Linked DNA regions of Homo sapiens: region 1 is linked to region 2. Evidence: promoter capture Hi-C in human tissues and cell types (Jung and others, 2019). All regions are on one chromosome and are shown on one strand. Each heading gives the region's core, a stretch centred on a gene start or on the middle of the fragment in contact. The rest is flanking DNA. Distances are from core to core; before and after follow the strand shown.

The links. The method cuts DNA at HindIII sites, captures the fragments that hold promoters and counts their contacts. A contact is called where the count stands out against the background at its distance.
Region 1: a contact is called between a fragment that was not itself captured here and the fragment with the promoter of COL8A1 in region 2, in 1 of the 25 tissues and cell types used here (aorta).

What each region holds. Positions count from the first base shown.
Region 1 is chr3:99,476,948-99,483,614 of GRCh38, forward strand. All of the region lies in intron 1 of LOC105374007 (a long non-coding RNA gene), which reads right to left. Among named protein-coding and RNA genes, the nearest start is that of COL8A1, 160 kb to the right of the region's middle. The HindIII fragment of the contact is 3,259 bases long and covers 2,027-5,285 here.
Region 2 is chr3:99,637,041-99,642,853 of GRCh38, forward strand. It overlaps COL8A1 (collagen type VIII alpha 1 chain), which reads left to right and starts at 1,554. Exons shown (of 4, transcript NM_020351.4): 1 at 1,554-1,624. LOC124909401 (a long non-coding RNA gene) reads right to left here and starts at 1,640. Exons shown (of 2, transcript XR_007095981.1): 1 at 1,547-1,640; 2 at 328-894. The HindIII fragment of the contact is 6,546 bases long and covers 1-3,408 here.

The DNA of each region.
Region 1 (6,667 bases), core at 2,406-4,905, 160 kb before region 2:
CCTTTGGGTATATACACAGTAATGGGATTGCTGGGTCAAATGGTATTTCTGGTTCTAGATCCTTGAGGAATAGCCACACTGTCTTCCACAATGGTTGAACTAATTTAAACTCCCACCAACAGTGTAAAAGCATTACTATTTCTTGACATCCTCTCCAGCATCTGTTGTTTCCTGACTTTTTAATGATTGCCATTCTAACTGGTGTGAGATGGTATCTCATTGTGGTTTTGATTTGCATTTTTCTAACTACCAGTGACGATGAGCATTTTTTCACATTTTTGTTGACCACATACATGTCTTCTTTTGAGAAGTGTCTGTTCATATCCTTCACTCACTTTTTGATGGTTTTTTTTTCTTGTAAATTTATTTAAGTTCCTTGTAGATTCTGGATATTAGCCTTTTGTCCGATGGATAGATTGCAAAAATTTTCTCCCATTTTGTAGGTTGTCTGGAATCATTTTTCAGCTTGAGAGTAGTTCATTTAATTTTACAAAGGTGGGCCTACTAGTGACAAATTCTTTATTTTTTATTTGACTAAAACTATCTTTATCTTCATTTTTTGAAGGATATAAAAATATTGTGTGTGAAATTATAGGTTGGCAGTTATTTTAACATTTTTAAGATGTCATTTTATTGTTTTCTAGTTTCCATCATTTTGGTTAAGAAGTTAGATTTCAGTCTTAGTGTTTCTCTTTTTAAGTCAACAACTGTAAGCTTTTCTCTTTATATTTGGTTTTCAGAAGATTCTTTGATATACTGTGGTGTAGTTTGCTTTGTTTATCTTCAAATTGTGGTTCTCAAAGCTTTTTGAATCTCTCAGTTGTTATCTTTCATCAGTTTGGAAAATATAAATAGTGATTCCACCCATTTTCTCTTTTTACTTCTGTGATACCTATTATATGTATGTTAGACCTTTGGATCATCCTATACATCTCTATTCATTTTTTCTTTTAATTTTTTCCTAATCTTAATTTTATGTGTTTTTATTGACTTATATTTTAATTCACTTGTCCTGTATACTTCTGTTTCTAATCTACTGTTAAATCCATCTATTGAGTTCTTAATTGCGGAGATTGTATTTTTCAATTGTATATTATCTATTTCTTTTTATTTAACAGAATATAATTCTCTGGAGAAAATCTCCATACTTTCACCTATTCTTTTTATCTTTTTTCTAATTTATTTAATATATTAATTATTGTTATTACAAAGGCTTTGACTGGTAACTCTGATATCTGGATCATTTATTAGTCTGCTACTATTTCTATCTTTTTCTTCTTCATTACTAATAAAAATTTTCCTGTCTTTTGGCATGTATAGTAATATTTTATTGTATGTCAGACATTAAGCATAAAAGAAATAAAGAGATTCCAAATAATGTGATGTTTCACCAGACAGTGTTTCCCCTTTCTTCTGTTATGTCACTCAGTTAAGCAGCTGACCATTTTGCAGAGTCAGGAATTGATATAGGTTAGAGCTGGACTATAGATTGTATAAGTCCCAGTATACATCTGTTTCAGTCATCTTCTTGAAAATGACCATCTCAAGCTTTTAATTAAGAGCCTAATTGGTTTCTTTCTCTGCAGTTCTGAAAGACTTCAGAATTTCCAGCTCTATCGTTCATAAGTTTCCAGCCCAGTTCTTTAGCCTGTCAATTCAGGCATCTTAATAGTCTAGCACATGTCTTATTTAGAGACTAATTGAGTGCCTAAGGTACTCCTCCAGTATGTCTTTTTGAAGCTTTTAGATGACTTTCTCAACCTCCAGTGTGGCTGCAGATGTCCATAATTTTGCCAAGGTCATATGGGGTAAATTAGCATTTGAAGAAGCCCCTAAAATTTCCAGTTTCCCTCACCGGCCTCCTACAATGGCTAAAACAAACAAACCAACAAAAACTTTGCTGGTTTCTCTTTCTCCCTGGAAGTGGCTCAATGCCTAAACCAAGCCCAATCTGTAGGCTGTGCCTTTAATTAATTACATTTTCCAAAGGACAAAATATCCAGGATTCAGCAAATATCCACAGGAAACATTTCTCCTCACCTTGGAAGTGTTATCACCCATCTTAGAGCCTTCATCTGTTTTCCCCATGGCTGGCAGGGAGGAGGGGAGCACAAGGAACACCATTAGTGAACTGACTAGCTAAGTATTTTTCCAATCTATTATGTAAACCAGAATTCCAGCCCTTAGAATTTTAAGTGCTAAGAATTAACCATTTTGCACTTTAGCTGTGGCCAAGAGACCAACATTTAATATGAACACGGTAAGGGTGAAGTAAACAAAAGCCTTACAGAGATAAGAAAAAGTCAGGTTAAGCTTATGTCATCATCGTACAGCATTTTGATCTGCTTCGGCCTATATTCAACTAAACTTTACTTTCAAGTGTTCTTTCTCTACTCACTAAATCAGATTTTGCTTTTTATATACCATTCCATAGAACCAGGTATAATGTCCTAGTGATGTCAGAATCCAAGGACAATCATTTGATGTTTTGCTCAGAAAATATTACCCATCTTATTGGTCTTATCCATTTTTAATTTAAAAATAGAGTGCATGTTACTATCGTAGTCATACAGATAATCAAGATATTTGGTTGCATACTCAAATAAAATATCCCAGTAGTATAGTTTATATTCAATTTAAATTTACTATAAGCATTTTCTAATCTATGAGTCTGATATAAATGTGTAAATGTTACACTTACAGAAAAGAGAGCATGTATTACTGAGTTTTCTTTTAAGGCATCCAGCTACAATGACCAAAATGTTTCCAGCTTGCAAGTGTATCTGAATCATGGTCATTAGTTTATGCTTACTTTTTTCCAAAGGTCTTTATTGTCACAACATGCAACAAAGTTGAACTCACTGTGAAAAATTAAGACCATAGAACTATTACTTTTGGTTATTCGACTATCAAAAATTAGCTTGTTAAGCACTTAGGGTTGTTGGCACCACTGAGATGGCATGGGAAAGAGAAAGAAATTGCATGCCAGCTTTATTTGTTTGAAAGCTTTTAGCACTGAGTTACACAATGGAAAAATCTCAAGAACATTCCCTGTGTCTGTGTTTGTAATGATTACACTAAAGTCAAGCACAACTCCAATAAACGAATCACACTCAAATGCTTTGGAGTTAAAATACTGGGTATGTAGATTAGGTTCCCTAAAAGAGACCAATGTTTTTTATGAAATTACTCCAAAGGAGATCAGGACAGGATATTTCCTGCTTTATGAAGGTAATATTGCTAATGTTGTTGAGACAAAGTAAAAGGTTATTTTAGATATCAACACATAGATTAATATAGTAATTCACAAATTTATAAACTTGAAAGTAAACAGTATTTTTCCCACTTGTGGGTAATGTGTGCATTTTTACTAAGTAACAATGTTAGTATTCTTTCTAAAATCTGCCTATTTAAAGTCCACTTAGAACACCCCATAAACTCCTTGGCTATTGCCCATAAAGACCACCATGGTCAGACTCTTGCCTATCTGTGTAATCTCATCTTGTCACAAATATCCTCTGTATGAGCTACTTTTAATCAGGTGAGGTTCAAGATGCATGAGGCTATTTCTCATCGTTGTGCTTTAGCACAAGCTGTTTTCTCTACACAGAAGTTCTTACCCTACCTTTCACACATAGTAAACTCAACTCAAATGCCACCTTTTCTGTGAATCCCTTCCTGACCTCCCTAAACACAGTTACTTTCTTTTTCTTGGTCCTGTAACATCCTATTTATACATATATTACAGCCTCTACCTCATTACCATCTCTAGCTTCTGCATCCTTCTAGGGCAGGGAAATACACTAAGCACATTGATATCCCTAAGAGCAGCACTCCACGTGACACGAAGCAGCTCTATGGTTAATAAATGTACAAAGAACTAAGAGAGGAAGGGAGAGAAAGGAGGAAGGAAAGAAAGGAAGACTTAAAGCTTTTAAAACGACCAAAAATATTTCCAAACCTAAATTTACAGTTGCTAAGCTCACAATAATATTTACTGAATGAGAAAAGAGCTCCTGAATACTGAAAATGTGTGATATAATAAAGGGAGGTGGTTGCACATAATGTATAGGCTTCTAATGTTATAACATCAGGCATAAAGATATAACAATTTACATTTTAGTCTCTCTGTTTTATCTTTTGCCTTCCTTCAGGGAGACTTCATTTTCTGTGTTCAGGAAGTTTGTTTTCTGTTCTGTTATTTTATCACTCACTGAGTTTCTTAGGGTCTTTTTCTCTGTTTGATGATGGCAGTTGATATGGGTTCTGGGTGCTATGGTACGAAATAATTCTGTAAAGTATCATAAAATATCATTTTATTAGTATTACATTTTGTACTTTTAAAATTAGAGTTGCTGACTTACATAAAAATGAAATGGAGGCCAGGTGTGGTGGCTCACTCCTATAATCTCAATACTTTTGGAGGCTGAGGCAGGTGGATCACGAGGTCAGGAAACCAAGACCACCCTGGCTAACACGGTGAAACCCCGTCTCCACTAAAAATACAAAAAAATAGCTGAATGAGATGGTACGCGCCTGTAGTCTCAGCTACTCGGGAGGCTAAGGCAGGAGAATTGCTTGAACCTGGGAGGCAGAGGTTGCAGTGAGCCAAGATTGAGCCACTGCACTCCAGCCTGGGTGACGGAGCGAGACTCTGTCTCAAAAAAAGAAAGAAATGGATTGGTACCATGCCAAATAGTAATTCTATTTTCTGAGACAGAATCAGGGATTCATTAAAATCTGTGCACAGCTCAGACAAGCCCAGGGTTCAGAATAATGTATTCTTCCTTTCTGTGATGGTTACATAGTGATTATGAGTCACAAGGTATTTTGCATGTAATATCCATTTGATTTTTTATCTTTCATATGGGGACACTAAGGCTCCTAGAGGACAAACAATGGACACATAATCAGTCATGCAGTAAACTGCAAAGTTAGAGGCTAAAGCTGGTCTTCTGACTTCAACCCCTGTCTTATTTTTTACTATACTAGGGTGCCTTCTTGTACTTAACTCATTCCCTGGCCCCTTCTATGCATGATCCCATAGATGATACTCTATAGCCAATGGCTTAGATATGGTGGCATACTCCTAGCTAACTACTCACCTGCTCCTTTAAGCTTTGCTGCTACACTGAAGCTAATTTCCATGTCTATGGAGAGGACAATTTACCAGAAGTATGGGTGTAAGACTAGCTGCCTCTAGCTGTCTTTGTAAGACATAGGGACTTGACAGATAAACTCTTAATTAAATACACGTAAGAATTTAGTGGGGTTCACATGAATTAAAGTTCAGTCTGGTAGTCATTAACATTGTTCACCAAAGTACTTAGTTTTCTTTCTTAGAAATTGACAGGGCTACACTTCCCTGCTCCTTGAAGTTAGGTGTAACCATATAAATATCTTTGGCCAATGATATGTGAGCAGAAGTGATGTGTGTCACTTCTGAGAGGAAGCTTTATGAATCACTATGTCATCTGCTTTCTTCCTTTCTGCTCTGCATCATTTCCTCCCACCCTGACTTTCTTTCTTTTTTTTTTTTTTTTTTTTTTTTTGACTTGACATTATGGCAGTGTGGACATTTAGTTTCTCCTATCAGGGTTCTTGACAAAAGACAATGTAGAACACATCCTTCTTTCCCACCCTCCCACCCCCACAAGCCAACCCACCATGGACATGAGGTACTAGCAAATGTTTTAAACCTTTACAATTTTAGTTGTTGCTTTTTTCTAACCAAGCATTACTTAGACTATCTTAACTGGTACACTTACCTTAATATATTATTTCAATCCAGTAGTAGTGCCCAATGGAATAGGTCAATGGAAACGTTTTTGAATCTATAAAATGTTAGTGCAGACTGCTCTTAATTAAGAATTCTCTTTAAGAATATTGATGGAGTTTAGGACACACTACCCCAAAATGTGGCACCATGGCATTTTGAGAAAACAGCTGAAGCTGGAATGTCTCTCTCACATACTCCTACCCTTTTCCCCTAAAGAAGGACATAAAAGAGTTCTTCAACCTTCCTCTAAAATAGAGGAAGTTTTCATGCACCTTATTTGAAAGGTGCCCAGCCAATACTTGGAAGATAGGAATGTTCTTATCTTTGAAGACACAGGATCACAAAGAAGATTATGAACAGGACTTGCTAAGTTCCCTGACCCCAGTTTATTACCATTAGGTGATAACCCCTCTGTTCAATCAGACTTCCCCATGACTATCCACTGTTCATCAAACCTAAGCATAAAAATACACAGGTTTCTAGGTTTCACTGGGTCTTCATTTGTGAAGGTTCCATGTCACATAAAACTTACATTAAATACATTTGTATACTTTTGTCTTGTTAATTTGTATTTTTTTCAGCCATTAACCTTGTGATGTGTGAAAAAAAGATGTTGCTTTTTCTTCCTTACACTGTTGTCTAAAACATTCAAAGGCCCATTGGCAGCTTATTGTTAATAAGCTTTTTGAACAGGTGTTTTCGTCTATGACACTGAAAAATAAACCAGTGGAAGAAACAATTTCATGGATAGCCATCTGTGTAAGGGGATCCAAGAAGACTAGGAATGGCTGTGTTTATGAGAAGCTAATTTTTTTCTCCTCCCCCAGCCTCAATTGCCTCCAAAGATCATAGTTTCAGGACCAATTCTTTTTATTCAGACAAAACTGA
Region 2 (5,813 bases), core at 304-2,803:
CGAAAGTTTCAGTAGTGCTAAGTTTGAGTAATTCTGCTCTTCACCATCAAGTTTCCTTCTCTTGGAGCCTGCTACCAGCCAATGACATCAGGATCTAACCTGAGACGAACCTAGGTGTTCTATACGGCAGCCTGGTGTACTGAAGAGTGCCTAAGGTTTGCAAGCTCGCTAGCTGTGGCTCCCCCTCTCGCTAGCTTGAGCTAGTTATTTAAACCCTTAGAGATGCCTTTCTTTAAATTAAAAAAAAAATAAATAAATCTGCACAATATGAATCATACCTACCTCATAAGGTTGCGGTGAACACTGAATGAAGTACATATATACATATTCAGTACAAGTTCGTTCCTTTATTATTTCCAGCCTACCCATCCCTCCCCCCTCCCATTCCCGCCTTTTCCCCCTCCCGGTACTGTATCTCCCACCCCAAGTCTCAGGTTCTCTTTTAAAATGCTTTAATTCCTTTGGTGGCAAAAATCAGGCTTGGGCTAGGAAGTGAGTCACCACTCAGCAGCGAAAGGAGCTTGTTTTTCTTTCTCTGAATGCATTTCTTAGTAATTTCAGACTGATCCTTTAGCCACTTGTTGGTTGAATCCTCTCTTAATGTTTAAGACACACTGAGAAAGAACTGTGGCACCAAGACGTTTTCCGATTGTTAGGAATGAGAGTGTTTTAAATACCGAAAATAACCAGAGGGCAGAGAGCTCTGAAATCCTACGTTACATAAGCAGATGCTGGAAGACCCAGGCTGGTTCTGAGGTTCCTGTCTCCACAAGCAAGTCCACGCGAATCCTCCCCGTTGCTGGATTTACTTTAATGCTGCCGAAGTCTCAAAAGGGGCCTCTGGATGCTCAGAGGACAGGCAGCGCAGGAACTTCCTTGTCAAATAAGCCTTGCCTGGAGGGAGAGGGATGGGGCGATTTTCACCCGCGGGCGGTGGGACGGGGCTGAGGGCTGGGGGCTGCCTGGCTCCAGGCCATGTCAGTGCCTCCAGCTCCAGGTCCGGGTCCACCCTGAACTTTGGCTCTGCTGCCCGGACGCCCAGCTTCACCTCCCTTGCCTCGCTTAGAAACCCTTCAGTTCTCCCGGACCGCTATGTAGCTTTTCAAATTCCCAAATTCACAGAAAACACCTTCAAAAGTCACAATCACCCACAACTCCCTCTGCCAAAAAATGTCATGCAAAAACGGAAAATACTCCGATTCCCCTTTCCTCCCAGACACTCTCTCTCTCTCTGTCTCTGCTATTCATTTTCTCCCCCACCTTTCCCCATCTGTGGTCAAGATCCCTTTCACTATTTCTAGTTCCCTCTCTTTTTTCCCTTCTCCCTCTCTCTCCCTTTTCCACTCCTTCCTCCGTTGTGACCGCGCTCCCCCTCCCCCCGCCCCGTCGTCTCTCCTCCGCCTTGCGGGCTCCAGTCTCTGCCCGCCCCTCCCCAGAGAAGAGTGTCCAGCTCCTCCAGAGGCTGCCCGCCCGCCGCTCCTTCCCTGCCCACCTACTATGAGGAGCAGCTCCTCCCACCTGCCCATAAAAGCCAAGTGCATGTTACCAGCAGCGGATCACAGCCCTTCCCCGATCCTCTCCGTGGGAGCCAGCGAGCCTCTCTCCCTGATCTTACGTGCTCAAGGTAAGACAGCACTTCTGCAGGCAGCTCACCTACCAGGGGTTGCTATGGGGGAATAAGTCACCCTCTGGCCAACGCGTTTGCTGTTTGGTTAGAGCTGATTCTTACGGATGCGCGATCCGCTGCTCCTTTAACTAGCAACTGGTTTGAAAACAAACTTCTGTTTGAATGGTAAAATAAAAGCTCCTTCAGGGAAGAAACAGCAGCATAAATATTGCGAAACCTTTCTCTTTTTAAATCACTTTTTCTCCTGTTGCTGACTGTTGCTTAGGTTAAAATGTATCTGTTTGGGGTGTTGTACTGACGTTTTTCACTGTACATATTTCACACATCAGTGGGGGCAAGGAAAACGTTGTCCCATTGTCAAAAATGTACTTTAAAAGAACACAGTTAACTTCCTAAAAATAGCACAGTCAAAAGGTCTGCTAACAATTTTGTGATGTTTTCCAAACCCCCAAGACAGCTTCTGTGAGTCCTTTAAAAAAATATCTTTCCAGGTTTTAGCGCTTGGAAAAAAATGATGTGAACGGGTGCCCTTTGCACGGGGACAGTAAGTAATCAGGTGGCTGGTAGATAGGAAGGAACAAATCCAAATTCACAAGCCAGGGTAGAATGTGCTCTCTCACCAGGCTATCTTTTCACGACATCCTAAAATGAGAATTACGATGGAACTAAGAAAGTGTATAAAAGAACTTCATGAATTTCTGTACACACACCTAAACATAAAGTGTTTCAATATGTTTCACAGTAAGAGAATAATACAGGCCAGATTATACAATACTTCTGTGCACACCAGATGGTTGTAAAGAAAGATCAGCGAGAAAGGCTTTGGAAGTTTTAATCCTTCTTTCCACCTTTTTTCCCCCGCATTTAGTAAATCACAACCTACCTGACTGGCATCCAATTATCAGAGATATTCAGTGTTTAAGCTACCCTCTTTAAAAGAAAATGATCTCTTCTTATTCCTAAGGTAGAATAAATGTGCACCTGTGAAAGGAAAAACATACTCCACAGCCACTTCTGTAAAACCAGACACTTGGTCCATGAAGTTTGCCATCAAATTCTGTGGGTTGTGTGGGATGAAACTCTCTCAAGTGGGAGAAAAACCCTCTTCAAATGTTTCCTCTGGGGAATTGCTCAAGACCACTTAGAGAAGGCAAACCAAAAGTACCAGTCAGGAAACCAAACCACTCTTTTAGCCCTTAAGGTTCTTAAAGTAAGAAGAGAAATGTTTCACTTTTTTATTTTTTTGTTTGTTTATATTATCTCATGTGGAAAGAAAAAACTCACCGAAGCTGTATGAAATTCTCCCCTATTAAAGAAACAAGACTCATTAGAAATTTAACTTAGGTCTTCCAAACCATTTCTCCTTAGCTTTTGCATATCAAAAGTAATAAAAATATTTAAAAGTTCTGCTTGAGATGGAGAGGATTCAATGCTGTTACTCAAATGCAAGAGTTATATATAAAGCTTCTGTCACGTTAAATTTTTCTTCATTGGAAAAAAATATTGCAAGAAGTGCAGTTTCCTTTAAGCAAATTATATAAAATTACTATTGGCCAAGATAGTATGTGACCTGAGCATATTAACATACCTTTTATCTCATGCCACAATGCAGACTGCTTGCTTTATATCTGATGCACATAGGTAATCAACCATGACAAGAGTACAGGTATGGGACAAGGCCAGACCAAGTATGTGGCACATTCAAGTTAATTCTTCTTTTATGGTAGTGCCTGACTCACACCCATTATCACAAGGATGAAAATACGCTGCTTCATTCACCAGATCCCCTTGAGGGAAGTTATCTTTTCTTGGGGTGGAGGGGGAAATGCTCCCAGTTTAAATGAGCTTCCAGTTATTCCTAAGTTTGGGGATAAAAGTATTCTCCAAGGGTTTACTTCTGCTTTCTCTGGCAATTAATCCACCGGACCAGCTATGGACCGTTAAACAGTAACTGCCTTCCCTATGTCCCATCAAGTTCAAGCCCCTAAATAACTGAGTGAGATCATCTTAGATTGCTCATGATCTAAGTTTCCCAGGAGCAAAGCTATCCTTTCTCCATAGGGTACATACCAAGCAAGATGACACTGCTCTTCTTAAGCTTTTAGAAAAATCAGTGTCGAAGTTTCATGTAGTCGCCCCCAAATCTCCCCTTCTGCATGGGATGTGGATACTTCACGTGAGTCTCCTCTTTTTGCCATTATATAGCTGCCTCTTGATCAAGTCCATGACTATACCCAACCAATGCCATTGAGGCAGACTTGGGAGGACTTCTTAATGTTTCTCAGAAAAGATAAGATGAGAAGCTGCCGCTTTCACTAGAGACACAAGAAGGGAGCTCTACTGATTTTGAGGGCTTGCTGATCCTACAGAAATGTGCATTTTAGATGTTCTACTACTGTCAAAATTATAAAATGATATCCTTTTCATGATCAGAAAACATATGCCACTTTATTCCTATTTATGAAATAAAAATCAAGGAGAAGAGGATTGGGGTGAAAAGGGACTTGAAAGAGAAGCTGGAGGAATCACAGAAGTGCCCTAGGAGAAAAGCAAGATTAGGAGCTCTGTTACGAAACGCAACTTCTCCCAACCCTCATTTATGTGAACATGAGGGGATGGGGAAGAGCAAAAATCCATGTCTGCTCTTGTCTTTTTATTTGTTTGTTGTTTTTTAATCAATGAGAGTATAAGATCCATCTCTACTATGCCCTTCTTCTTAGCCCTCCTTCTTTAGCAGAAAAGAACAGCTTGGTTCTAATGATGAAAATGATTTCAGGTTTGCCCCATATTTAAAAACCCACAGTAATTTGCTAGTCATAATTCTAAAAGCTATACTATGAGTTAAAATAAAAAACTCCTTAAAACATGTTTTTAACTAACAGATGGGTCACGTCAACAAAACCAACCCTAAGTCTCCTGAAAAGTGTAATGTTGAGTGCTTATTTGTAAGTTAAAAGTTAGAAACAGCAATTTACTCCTTATCCATGGTTACTCACTTTGGTATGGAAACTTGCAGACAGATTGAGACACACCGTATTTCCTAAAACCTCTGGTCCTCCAAGTAACCCTCTGGGAGCTAGGTGTTTCTGCCTTGACCTCCTTCTCTTCAACCAGACCCCTATAAACATACATGTACATAAGTTAAAGAAGGTACAGATCTTGAAACTTGAGTGTATTCTTGTGAAAGGTGCACTGGTCTAACTATTGAGTGAAAAGAAAACCAAAAGGAGAGGAGAGGAGAATTAAGGGGAGAATGAATGCCCTTTGGAATTTAGAGAATCTTTCTTTTTAGCATTGTGTGAAAAGGATATCTCAATCCCTAAAGCATCTGGGAATACACATTTATTTAAAGAACCTGTTCAAAAGTTGTCACAAAATGCTAAGAATATAATGAAGAAGATCTTCCAGTGACCTGGCAGATATTAACAGCAGGTTACACCCCACACTACTAAATTATAGCTCTATTAAACTTCCCCTTTCTAGAGAGATAAGGAGTGAGAAGTATGAGCATTAACCACATTTCAACACAAACAGAGAAAAGCTGCTAATGAGAGATCCCTCTATCACTTTAGTAACTCCATTTGTTGTTTGAGGGAGAAGGTTCTTCATAGTTTTTCCTCAAGCAGATTTGCAGGAATGGGGTTAAAGGGAGTCACACAAGGTTAGAATGTCTACAAGCCTGAAGTCGTGTGTACTCAAATTCATGAAGCCATTGAAATTGCATCAGATCAAACTGAAGTGAATAAAACAAAAAGTGTTCACCAAAACTGATCACAGAGTAATCAATAAAAATAAAAATAATGAATTCTAACTTCTCAATGTAGGATAAGAGCAAAAGCAACAACTTTAGCTGACTATGTAAAATATGAACACACACCTGACAATTCACCTTCGGTGTCCTCTATTTATTTGGGGCTCACTTCCATCGTCCCTCCTGGACAACAAAAACTGACCCTTCTCTCCTTCAGCAAACCTTTCAGGATGTGCAGATGCAGTCATAGTCCCTCTGTGACATTTCCTTTGTTCTTTCCCTGGAAAAAATCTCTTTTTAATTCTCATAGAACAAGTTTCTAAAGAACCACTCATACTTGTGGCTTCTCTCATTACCAAAAATTTCCTCATACTTCTCTTAAATAGGATATAAATTTTCACCCTATCAAATGTAAAAGCTTCACATTTTTCTAAA